Linked DNA regions of Homo sapiens: region 2 is linked to region 1. The links are contacts of gene promoters, found by promoter capture Hi-C in blood cells and fetal thymus (Javierre and others, 2016). All regions are on one chromosome and are shown on one strand. The core of a region is centred on a gene start or on the middle of the fragment in contact, and the rest is flanking DNA. Distances in the headings are between cores, read along the strand shown. Region 1 holds the start of LINC01280 (long intergenic non-protein coding RNA 1280). Region 2 overlaps DIRC3 (disrupted in renal carcinoma 3).

The links. The method cuts DNA at HindIII sites, captures the fragments that hold promoters and counts their contacts. A CHiCAGO score of 5 or more calls a contact.
Region 2: a contact is called between a fragment that was not itself captured here and the fragment with the promoter of LINC01280 in region 1, in 1 of 17 cell types (fetal thymus). The highest score is 5.7, in fetal thymus.

What each region holds. Positions count from the first base shown.
Region 1 is chr2:216,602,034-216,608,288 of GRCh38, forward strand. It overlaps LINC01280 (long intergenic non-protein coding RNA 1280), which reads right to left and starts at 4,905. Exons shown (of 4, transcript NR_110392.1): 1 at 4,829-4,905. RefSeq lists an enhancer at 920-1,641. The HindIII fragment of the contact is 10,190 bases long and covers 1-6,255 here.
Region 2 is chr2:217,750,976-217,756,892 of GRCh38, forward strand. The region is part of intron 2 of DIRC3 (disrupted in renal carcinoma 3); the gene reads right to left. Among named protein-coding and RNA genes, the nearest start is that of DIRC3, 37 kb to the right of the region's middle. RefSeq lists a silencer at 5,672-5,841. The HindIII fragment of the contact is 679 bases long and covers 2,955-3,633 here.

The sequences.
Region 1 (6,255 bases), core at 3,655-6,154:
TTGAGACACAGCAAGGATTCTCCAGTTTGCCGTATCCCTACTACGGCCTGTTGTTATACCTAGCAAGGTTTATTTGTTCCCTTTACCTGTCTGGCCCCTGCAACACCTGTTACGGAACTGTTTATCATCAAGGTCAATGCCATTCCATAGAAACCCTTCATTGCACAGATGAGGAAGCAAAATCCCCACTAGGGAGGTGGCTTTGTTGCCCGTCATGGCCAATTCCAGACAGAACTCAGAGCCAAGTGACGCCCAGATCTGCTCTCTCGAGGGAACTGAGGCCAAGATGGGCAGAGGCATTAGAGCCTCTCAGGGACCCAGTCCTGCCAACCCTGCCCAGGACTCCAGTGTGAAGACACTGAGATACTTTCAAGGATAAGACTCTGGAGGATGCAGAAAATTTCCCTTTTGTCATGGAGTTTGGGTGTGAGGAGAGGGCCAGTGAGCTGGTGGAGAGGTCTGTTCATTTTCCCAGCTCGCAACCTGACAGAAGGGCAGAGGGGGTGCTCTGTACAGAGGGTCCTGGCTGTCTGCAAGGCCCCGCTCAGACACTGGGCTTTCTCCTGCAAAGCAAGCATCCCCCAGACACTGCTAGGGCAGAAGCTGCAAAGTACGAAGCCAAGGGGTCCCCTGGCTACAGTGATGGTGGCCATAGCTAGGTTGGCTTAATCCTGAGCAAACCGTTCCTGACTTTGCGAGGTTCCAGAGAGTTCCCTCAGCGAGGAGGAGGAGGGCCTTGCAGGGCAAAACAGCCCTCCAGGAAAACATCTTCCGCAGACTGAGCCAGTGGTGTTGCTGGGCTGAGCCCCTGCTTGCCCCAGACATCACTTCCAGCCTTCCCCAGTCTTTCCTTCACCTGCACCCAGGCTGCTTCTCTTCCCCAGCTGGCTCCTGAAGAACATTCCTTGCCTCCTGTTTCAGGGACTTCTCTCCAGGTAGTCTTTCAGTTCTTTCTCTCCTCTTCATCCTCCCTCCAGCTTAATCCCTCTCTCCCCTCAGAAACGTCTTTCCCTCACAATTGACCCCAGGCCTCTGACTTTGCTTTGTACATAACCTGGAGCATGCTCTGATGATAAAATGCCAAACCGCATCCCTTGGTCGCCGGCTCTTTTCCTGCCAGCCCCAGCACCACCAGCATCTGTGGCAGCTCCCGGGCTCCCAGCTTGTCTGGCACCCAGAGCACCTTTCTGGCACCCTACACTGGGAGGGTGGGGGAGGAGGAGCTGGGCTTCCAGGGAGAGAAAGGCTGGGCAGTTTTGATTCTCAGAGGCAGGGAGGATGAAGGAAGGGGTGAATACAGTGTGAGGAAGGGGAGGAGAGGAAGGGGAGGGGAGGAGGAGGTGGAGGAGGGGGAAGTGGTGTTTGCTTGAAGGTCAGAGGGGAACTGGAGTGTTGAAAAGCATGAAGGGCAGAATTATGGGGATGGTGATTTAACCTAAAGCAGTGGTTTCAAATTTCTTGGACTATGACACCCGGTAAGAAACACATTTTACATCACAACCCAGCAAACTACACTATGTGTGTGCACACGTGTCCACACATACACCATACATCCTGAAAAATCAAATTTCACATGAGGATACTTATGCTTACTACATGCGATACACTAATATTTCTATTATATTCTTTTTTCCATATGCTTATCTTTTGTATATAATTATAATAAGTAGTCATTAAACAAGGATACTATTATACCTATTAAAGTGATTTCATAATCCACTAGTGATTCATAAACCACAGATTGAAAAAACGATAAATATAGGCAGTGAGAGTGAATTTATTACTGGCTCCTAAATCTATGAAGGGTGATTAATAAATAATGATATTTATAAATAATGATAGCAAATAGACATAGTTCTCAGCAGTTTTACATGCATGATTTTATTCAGTCTTATAAATCTATTAGGTACTATTATTATTCCCATTTTACAAATGAAGGAACAGACACGCCCGAGAGTTCAAATAACTTTGCTCAAGATGGTAAGTGGCAGAACCAGGATTCAACCCTTCCAGCCTGACGCAACAGCCACAGTCCAATATTCAGACATTCCTGCTGTTAAAGACATTATTCAATGACATTTGCTAAACCAGAGTAAGGAAGACTTTACTCAGGACTATCCCTATACATTTAGGGACCACTGCAATGAGGTCTCACAGCAGGGGAGAGAGACTGGGCTCACCTGGGCAAGTGGGGATTTGTAGCCAAGGAGCAGGGTGGGGGTCAGTGGATGGAAAATTACTGAGAGTAAACATTAGAGGTAAGGGGGATTCTGGCCAAACAGAGCTAACAGGATTCTTGCTGAAGACAGGCCAGGGTGATCAGACAGCACCTGGGGGATGGTAGAGGATGAGGAACCTGATCAGCTAGAAACAGTGTCCAGATCTCAAGGATCAGGGAGCTTCTTGCTAGACTGATTTAGCAGGGCTCTTTGCTAAAACTGGATTTTACAAGAAAGAATCTCAGAGGAGATTCAGAAGCCTAACTGAAGTTTGTCCAAGCAAAGAATCTTTGTCACTGCACAAGGTGACCTGTATACATTCATCCAGTCATTCATTTGGAGCTTTGAGCTTGGTGCTCCAGAGTGACAAATGACTGATGGTAGCTCCTGCCACTTGGATAGCTGTCAGCAGTAAGAGGGAAGCAGATCTGGAACACAGAAGTACTGACATCACAGAACCTGAGGAATCACAGAGTGGGGGCAGAGATCATCAAGGCCACCCCTCACTTCACAGATGGGAAACTGAGGCCCCAGGACCCCCAGAGCTAGAGGCTGAACCTGGCATGAACCCAAGAGCTCTAGGCAACCAAATCTGTTCTCTTCCCTTCAAGGGCCTCCCTGCAGGATTATGAGAAGCCAAGATGGTAAAGAGATATTTGTAGTTGCCATCTGGAGATTCTTTTGGGCAACATCATGATCTCCTGGAAAGAGAGGTGAGCAAATGCCCAGTTCTGCCCTGCTGTTCCTCAGCACCTGGCACCATGCCGGACACTAGCTACCTTCTGTGAGCATCACTTATACTGTCCATTTTCTTTTGGTCATGTGCACCCTCATCACTGCTCTGCTAGACTCTTCTTACATTTACCATTTCATCTTATATTTTAGTTAATTCTCATTGCATTTGAAATCTTCCCAACAGACTAGATCCATAAGTACGTTAAGAATGTGGAATGTGTCTGCCTTCTATACTACCATCTACTCAATTGCCGTGGACCATGCCTATCTCATAAGCAGATGCTGAATAAATGAATAAATGAATGGGCATTGGGGAACCATATCCTGAACTTCCCAACTGAAGCACTTCTCCTGGATTCCTAGTGGGCAGCTTTGTACATAGAAGTTGCTCCACACATGAGTTCATGTCCTTCATCCTTGGCAGCAAGCAGTAACTACTTATCCATGGATCAGGGTAGGGAGAACAAGAACCTCAGGGATAACACCACTGAACCTGCAGCTTCATTTCAGCCTGCAGAGAAAATACAACTGTGGCTATTGAGCCAGGCAGGTCAAGCCTTCCTGGGTCATCTAAAATGACTGCATGCTTGCTCTTCAGTCCTTTCCTTGCACCTGCATTTCTGAGGTGCCTTTGCCCTCTGGCTTCCAGGTAGCTGTGGCTGATTGGAGGAACTGGTAAATCACTGGAGGGCCACCAGAAGGAGGGGAGAAGCCGGCCATTCCTCCTTCTCCAGTCCCTCTACTTCCTGCCTTCTTGGGCAGCAGTTGACTCCTGTGTGGCCGCAGCTCCCTTGGGGGCAGCCCCCACCATCATTCTAGTACCTGCTAGATGTACAGTACTAAATTTTTAAAATAAAATACAGGCCACCAGTTAAATGTGAATTGCAGATAAACTGGATACTTTTTTTTTGGAGATGGAGTCTCACTCTGTCGCCCAGGCTGGAGTGCAGTAGAGCGATCTCGGCTCACTGCAACCTCTGCTTCCCAGATTCAAGCGATTCTCCTGTCTCAGCCTCCCTAGTAGCTGGGACAACAGGCGTGTGCCATCACACCTGGCTAATTTTTTGTATTTTTAGTAGAGACAGGGTTTCACAATGTTGGCCAGGCTAGTCTCGAACTCCTAACCTCAGGAGATCCACCCGCCTCTGCCTCCCAAAGTGCTGGGATTACAGGCGTGAGTCACCGTGCCTGGTCCAACTGGATACATTTTTATATTACATTTTTGATTATGATAAAGTACACATAACATAAATCTTACCATTTTAACCTTTTTAAAGTATACAATTCTGTGGCATTTAATGCACTCTATACTGACTTAAAATACTAGCAATTATTTGTTATTTATTTGAAATTCAGATTTAACTAGTGTTAAATACAATAACTGTTATTGTTAATACAATTGTAGTAGGGAATTGTATTGTATTGTAATAGGGTGACCGTTGCTCCTGGGCTCTGAAAAAGCACCTCTTGTTGTCACCCCTCCAGTCCAAGGAGGTTTTTCTAGCACCTCTGTAACCAATTACCTTCATTAAAGTCTCTGAATAAGACTTAGCGAACTCCCTCCCTCCTGCTTCCCTGGCTGGACCTTGACTGTACAAACAATGAGAAGTACCCACCCTCCAATCACCAAGAGTCCAGATATCACAATAAGGTCCCGGAGTGAGCTCCCATGTGCTTCCCTCCCGCCCAGCCTGCTCCATCATCAACCCCCTTCCTCATCAGCTCTCAATCCTCCCCAACTCCAGAAAGCAGGCCAGGTGTCTCTGTAATTCTCAGGTGCACCCCCACCCCCTGCCTGGGGTGATTGGTTCCATGTGTCTGTCTGCGGGGCCACCCGGCCCCCTCCTGGCCCCCCTTACCCGCCTTCCGCCCACCTGCCTTCCTTCCTCACAGCTTCGCTCTCGCCTCGCTGAGCCCTTCCTGTCGCACGTCTGACACGTCCCCTGCGTCTGCGGGCTCTCCTGCTCCCTCCCTGCCCTCTTTCAGACAAGACAAAGAAAAGAAAAGGGTGGCTCTTGTTGCATTCACTACTTTTATTAATGAATGCAAGAACAAAATCAGCTGGCCCTGCAGACGTCCTGCTGAACTGGGGTGCTGTAAAAGGAGATGGAATCCTAGCATTTTGGTTTTGAAAGGGACTTGAGGGGCGAATTAATCTCATTCCTGTACAATACGGGGTGCCTCTCCCAAAATCACGAAAACCAGAAACGCGGCAGGAGAGTCATGAACCCATGGAGGTGAACAGTTCAGCTGCTGGAATATAGACAAGTGGTTCCCAAAAGTACTTTACATCCTGAGAGCCTGAGTGTGTAGTGAGATGGATTGGCACAGCGCTACGCCAGGTGCGTGTGGCCTGTGCTGCTGGGGCAGTGTGTGTTGCTGCACCACAACGTGATAGCGATAGAGACGGAGAACACTCAGAAACTTCGGGAACTATTTGACATCTCTGCACCTTCCAACGCCTAATCGTTTTGCTAGTCATTCACTTTATGATTGTATTAAGTGTCAGTCTGTGATGAACTAAGGTGCAAAAACGGGTGCTTTGCCAGAGGTGATTTGAAAAGCACTCTTTCGGAGCCACACTCAGGAGTTGGGTCCAGTTTTGGAAAGAGGATAAATGTCTGGAGGCAAGTGACTTAACCTCTATGGATCTGAGTTTCTCCTCTGTAATATGGGGACAATCTTGACTCCTACCTCATGGGACTGTTGCAAGAATTCTACAAGTACATGACATAAGCACCGTGGGGCACCAGGCACACAGTGGGGAGGGTGTGTGATTATTTGTAGACGCTTCTTGACTTGAGTTGACCAAACCACCAAGATCATTGTCCACTGACTCTCTTTCTGGGAATCTCTGAGGACGTAGCTTCTATTCCCACTCTTTGATGGCTGTTATAATAATTACTGATCTTAAAGTTCGCTTCTTTCCATGGTGACATTTCCATCCCATCCTCTGTCTTGACTCACGGGACCTACAAGATGAAACCTGGGATCTCTGCATTGGACCCGAGCACTGGGTCCACCCTGAGGCCCCCTTGGAGCTGATGAGGGAAGCCAAGGGCAGTTATGGGGGTCTGAAGAGAAGGTGTTAAGCCATGAGAGGGAAAGGCCACAAAACCAGAATCACAAAATAGGCACTAAAATCGGGACTCCACAAGGGCAGCAGAAGGCAGACCATTAGAAAGAAATGTGGGACAGTGGGGCGTCATTGTGTTACTGTAAAGGAGTCCCAATCCAGACCTCAACAGAGGGTTCTTGGATCTCATGCAAGAAAGAATTCAGGGTGAGTCCATAGAGTAAA
Region 2 (5,917 bases), core at 2,044-4,543, 1.1 Mb after region 1:
GGTATTCAGAAGTTACAACTGAGGTGATGGCAGCTAGAGTATTACCAGGACCTTCCAAAGAAGGCTGAAGAGGAATTTAAGAGGGGGTGGGGAGCAGGCATCATCTTTCCTACAGATCAACACCAAAAAGATTACGATACAGACCTAGGAGGGAGAGAGTCCAGCTTCCAGATTCCAGACTGGGGGCCAGGAGGGTACATAATTCTGAGAGCCCTATCAGTCCTTCCCTGAAGCCGAGAGGATTCACCTACAGAAACACAAGGAAGGGAGGGTCTAGCCACCCCTTCCCCCAACATCCACTCTCACGGGCTTCTGGCAACCCATCTTTGTGGGCGCAAGCCCCGGCATCCACAGCAGGGTCATTTTTACAAGGTGCGCACACCCCATGCCTCCCAGGGCTTTTGACACTCCCTAGAGGGACACTGCCAAGGCTCCTGGGAGCACCACAGGAGGCCCGTGGGTGCTATCCTGGAGCCAAGTTCAGCTGCTCCCCCAGCAGGAGCCCAGCCTCCTGACCGTGTGCCCCAGTTGGCTCTAGGGACTTGGGGAGGGAGGCTTCCACTTCCCTTTGTAATAAGGGGCTTGGATTAGCAATATTTCCCAACTATGATTTGAGGAACTCTGACCCCACTAGATGCTCCATGGCAAGAGGTTTCACTGGACAAATAATCCTGGGAAATGCTGCAACTCTACCAACCCTCTTGGAGCTCTCTGTTCTCCTTAGCATAGTAGAGGCTTTGAGCACCCTACAGTGAAGAGGAGAGGGAAAGCAGCTTAACTTTGGTGATGTTTTGTATTGGCCTCCACACATGAATTCTGTTCTAAGTGGTTTATCTCAAATCCTCTGGGTAAGGCACTATTGTAACCCCATTTTATAGAGCCATCCTCTGGGTGGCTCTGTGCTGCTCCTCTTGGCCCAGAGTTTCTCAAATGTCCCGTTCAAGCCTGGGACATTTGTCATGAGCACGGCTTTAGAAATTCTGGACAGGAGGACCTCTAAGACTAATTAGATGCTTTCCTCACACTGAGACAAGTCCCATGAAATTAGAGAGGGAGGGGAGGGGAAGAGAGAGAGAGAGACCGAGAGAGAAACAGAGCAAGAGAGACACACATCAAGAGAGACACACAGACATAGAGAGAGAGACACAGAGAGTGATGCAGAGAGACACTGAGAGACACATACAGAGACATGCTGAGAGGGAGACTGAGAGGAACAGAGACTGAGACAGAGAGAGACACTGAGAGACAGAGACATGAGAGAGACACTGAGAGACAGAAACACTGAGAGACAGAAACACTGAGACACAGAAACACTGAGAGACAGAGACAACATGAGAGAGACACTGAGACCCAGGGACACTGAGACACAGAGACACGGAGAGACAGAGACACTGAGAGCCAGGGACACTGAGATACAGAGACACTGAGAGACAGAGACTCTGAGACACAGAGACACTGAGACATACACACAGAGAGAAGGCAGCAGGGAGAGGAGTGTAGCCATGGTTGTGAGGAGAACCTGCTGAGATGAGCTTTGTGAGTGAGCCTGTGCTTTTGGAGGGGAGATGAAGGCGGCTTGGGTTAGGGGATCTCAAACCCACCTGGGCAAAGCCAGACCCCCCTTGGAATGGGTTTCCATTCACAAGTTGAGGAGGGCAATGCCTGCGCCAGTGAAAGAGGAACTCTCACGGAGGAAACAGGCAGATCCTCATCACCCTTCAGCTCCTCATGGGCAGCTCCTCATGGGCAGCTCCTCATGGGCAGCTCCTCATGGGCAGCTCCTCATGGGCAGCTCCTCATGGGCAGCTTGGCCTGAGTGAGGAGGACCCCCGAGTCCACCTGGGAAATCTCGGCCACCTGCTGGAGGGGGCAGCTTTAGGGCTTCAGGGCTAAAGAAGTAGGATAACTAGGGCCAGGATTGTAGGGAGAAGGGAGCGCATGCTCAGTGACAGACCCAGGCTGAGTGTGAACGACCCAATCCCCTCCACACAGCCCTTTTCCCCAAATCACTCACATGCCTGCCCCCATCAGCCCTGAACACCCAACCCCAGCCTGCACAGAAGACCTGCAGCCTGGAAGCAGGCAGGCTCGGAGCCCTGCAAGGGTTGGGGGTTGGCTCTGTCCATCTTTGGATCCCCACCCCCAGCCCTGTCCAAGACATTTGTCCTCAAAGGAGCTTTATTTGGTCTTCTCTCCATTTTTGTGCAAGCCTAGTGAGAAGCCATGGCCAGCAAGAGGAAGCAACAGCCACCTGCTTGGAACTCATTTGAGAGGGGCTGAAATAGGCCACCTGTTCCCAGGCTTCCCTCCCACGCAGTAGGTCACAGAGTCTGGCCACTAGGAGAAGGTCCGAGAATGTTAAGGTTTGAAGAGACCTAAGAGCCTAACCTTCCAGCGGAAGCCTCTGTCCCTCCAGGCTGGGGCAAAGAGGGCTGACCCCAGGTGGCAGCACGCGGGTCACATTTGATTCACATGATTTGGCCTCTGGTGAGCCTAAGCGCTGTGGAGCAAGGGGTGGGAGTTCCCACTCAGGAGTAAGACTGCCGGGATCTAAATCCCGGTTCTGCCACTTCCTATCTGAAAAACACATGCCTCAGTTTCCTTCTCTATGAAACACAGCCCCATCGCCAGGCTGAGTGCAGACTCTTTGGGGCAGATCCTTCACCAGCCCATTTTGCAGATGAGGAAACTGAGGTGAATGAGCCGGCACTGTGACCCCACGTGCTTCATTCTAAGCATAGAGATCTTGCCGCTTCAGCAAGCCAACTTCCTTCCCCAGGGAAGGCTGGGAAACAGTAACTGGAGAAGGGGGCAGGAGGGTCTCTGCCTGGGTGCAAGGCTCAAGGCTGGCCAGTCCTGCCATTCTTCTTGCCTCTGGTTTTTCCGAATTCTGCCTCTCCCTCTGGAAAGCCATTGCAGGCAGGGCACTCCCAAGCCTCGTTTACAAAATTATAAGCTTCCTTTGTCCCCAGTCTCCTCTGGTTACAATAACACTCATCAGCTCTCCAGAGCTTTCAGGGGCATGGAAAATGTGACTTCACTCCTCAAGGATTTCTGATTTAACAAAATGGCATTGGGGAAAGAAAATGAAAAAGAATGTCTCTGTCCATCCCTGATAGAAAAGGCAATAGGGCTCCAGCCTCCCAGCCCAGAGTCAAGAGCCAAGAGCTCCCAGAGGGTCCAGAAGGCACAGACAGGGGACCCTCAATCCCCCTTGGACCCCACAGACTGGAAATCAGCCTCTCTGGGTGGGGCCTAAGGGGAAAAGGGAGGGAAAGGGTCACTGAAGACAGGTGCCAAAGGCAGGAAATAAATACATCCTGTCTTGCCATTCCCCAATTTGACAACTTTATTATTCCTGTCCTTCTTTATTCAGTCAGTCCATCAGTCACTTGTCCTAAGTGCTTAAAATGAGTGACTCTGGTGTCCAACCACCTGGGATAGTATTCTGGCTCTGCCATCTTTCCAAGCCTCAGTTTTCTCATCTGCAAAATAGAGACAATGTAGTCTGGACTTTATAGAGCTGCTGTGAAAACTAATGAGATACCATGCTAAGGGCTTCACACCATGCCAGCAGATCAGAAGCTCTCAAGACATGGTAGCTCTTGGTGCTGTCACTCATGGGAATTGCAAAGCTTTGTCAAGCAGAGCAATGTGTCTGAGGCTGGACTGTTGGGAGTACCCATCTCATGGCACCTGCAGTCTAGAGACCCAGCCCTGGAGGCTCCTAGCTGGCCCATTACTTTAAGTCCTGAACACCAGGGCTAGTCTAATAGGTAGACTGGCAGGGTAAGGAGAAGGGCTTAGTGAGTGCTTGCTGCATACAAGACGCTGTGCAGGTGCTAAGGAAAATTCAGAAATAGCAACTATAAATCAAACTCCACGATTTCAGGTATATGAGAAATATAATTTTCAAAAAAATTATTTAAGTCAAGTTAAATCCATCTCTGAGCCCCCATCCCACCTGAGACAGCAAATTTTGTCCTGGTCATTAATGGAACCCGCCCATCCTCTCTCTCACCAGCATCACTGGAAGGGGTGCATGCGTGGTCACTGGCCATTTGTCCCCACTGGTTACACTGAGATAACTGATGCAAGGCCACACAGTACCCAGGAGCCCAGGGGCTCTGCTGCTTCTGTGCCAAACAGTGCCAGAGAAAGCTAGTCACAGACACATCACACTGTCAGCCCACTCTGAGGTCCTGCCCACCCTGGGCATTGACAGGGAAAAGGGTGCTCTGCCTCCGGGACTCTTCCCTCAAAGGCACTCACATCTCAAAGAACTCAGGCTCCCAGAAAGGAAGAAAAAAGAAAAGAAAGCAATTCCTACTCCCTGGCCTGCAGCAGCAAGTCTCCCAAAGCAGGGATCTCAAAGGAGCAGGCTGTTTACATGGGGGGAGTTGGGGGCAGTAGAGACAAAAATATAAGGATAACAGAAAATGAATCGTCGTATCTCAGAGACGGCCCCTCTAAAGAGGTGACTTCCAGGGGCTCCCAACAAGACACCTGCACCCCCTCCACCTTCTACCCCTACCCCATCACCCGCAGGCAGAGGAAGCAGCAAACCACATAGTGACATTTCAGGACTAACAAAAAGCCCTCCAGGAAGTAAATCAATCTCCCCCAAGCTTCCTGAACACCTACACTCTCCTTCATCTAAGGCAGATGTCCTGAAGAGGTCTCTGCTGAAAGGGATCAGTTGACTTATCACTGTCACCTTGCTGAGGCCAGGGCAACAGGGAAGATAAGTGTTGACTGGGAAGCAATACTTATCCAAGAAAGAAATGGGTATTTAATACCTACTAGGTACCACCAGGTGATTTCACAAACAACCTACCTGTTCATCACAACCACGCAAAATGAGTGCTTCATTCCCCGTTATTGATGAGGAAACAAAGGTCCTGAGAGAGGGGCCAAGGTCACAGAGCTGTATTATGACAAAGCTGGGAACACTCAGCCAATATTTAATAATAATACTATCACTTAGGGTACTATTATCATTCCCATTTTACAGAAGAGACTCTGAGGCACAGCAATTAAATTACCTGTAAGGGCCAAGAAGGGTGCCCCTGAGGCCTGGGCTGTTGATCCCCTCATTTTTCTGCCTCTGCATGAGAAGCAACTGGTTGGAAAGTCCCACCAGTTCTGAGAATTCATGTTCTGCCCGGATTCCTGCAAATGAGTAGGGAAGCACGACCAAGGATTCTGGTAGCTTTGCATAGGACTTAAAGACTCACATTATTTTGAAATACAGTTTTGTAAAAAATAAAAATACAAATATTTAGAAACCAATTAAAGAGTATTGCTTTGGGGAGCAAAAGACAAAAACCCCCCGTGCCTCACTGTCTCCTCCCACTCACCCCCCGCATCAATTCAATGGCCTGGAATCCCTGCCTCTTCTGTTCAATAAACAGAGATGGCTCTAAAGAGAGGACCCAATGTGCTGAGCAGTCTTGGATAAAGAACACCGACAGTCAGAGATGGAAAGATACCTTCGTCGGACAGATGAGAAAACTGAGGTCCGCATGACGGAGCGACTTGCCCAGGGTCAGGCACCTGCGTAGGCACCTGGACACATATGCGTGTGCACGCACGCAAGGCCGCGCACGCTGGGCTCTGGCCGGCACGGCCCTCACGTGCCCTCACGCACGTATGCCCCGCATGGGTTCCCCCAGCGAGCTATCCCTGCGCCCACCCCTTCCCCTGCCCGGGCCTCCGGAGCTGCTCACACGCAGGTGAAGACTGCCCCCTGGTGGGCGGGAGCCCTCGGGAGGCCCGCAGGCCCAGCGTCCTGCGCCCGTAATCCCTCAAAGGGGCTTCTCTGGAATCACCCCCAGGCCCTGGGGCCAGGATCGAGGCTGCTCTGGGAACTGGGCTTACACGGGTGTGGGTGGGGACCTCTGGGATCTTAGAACCA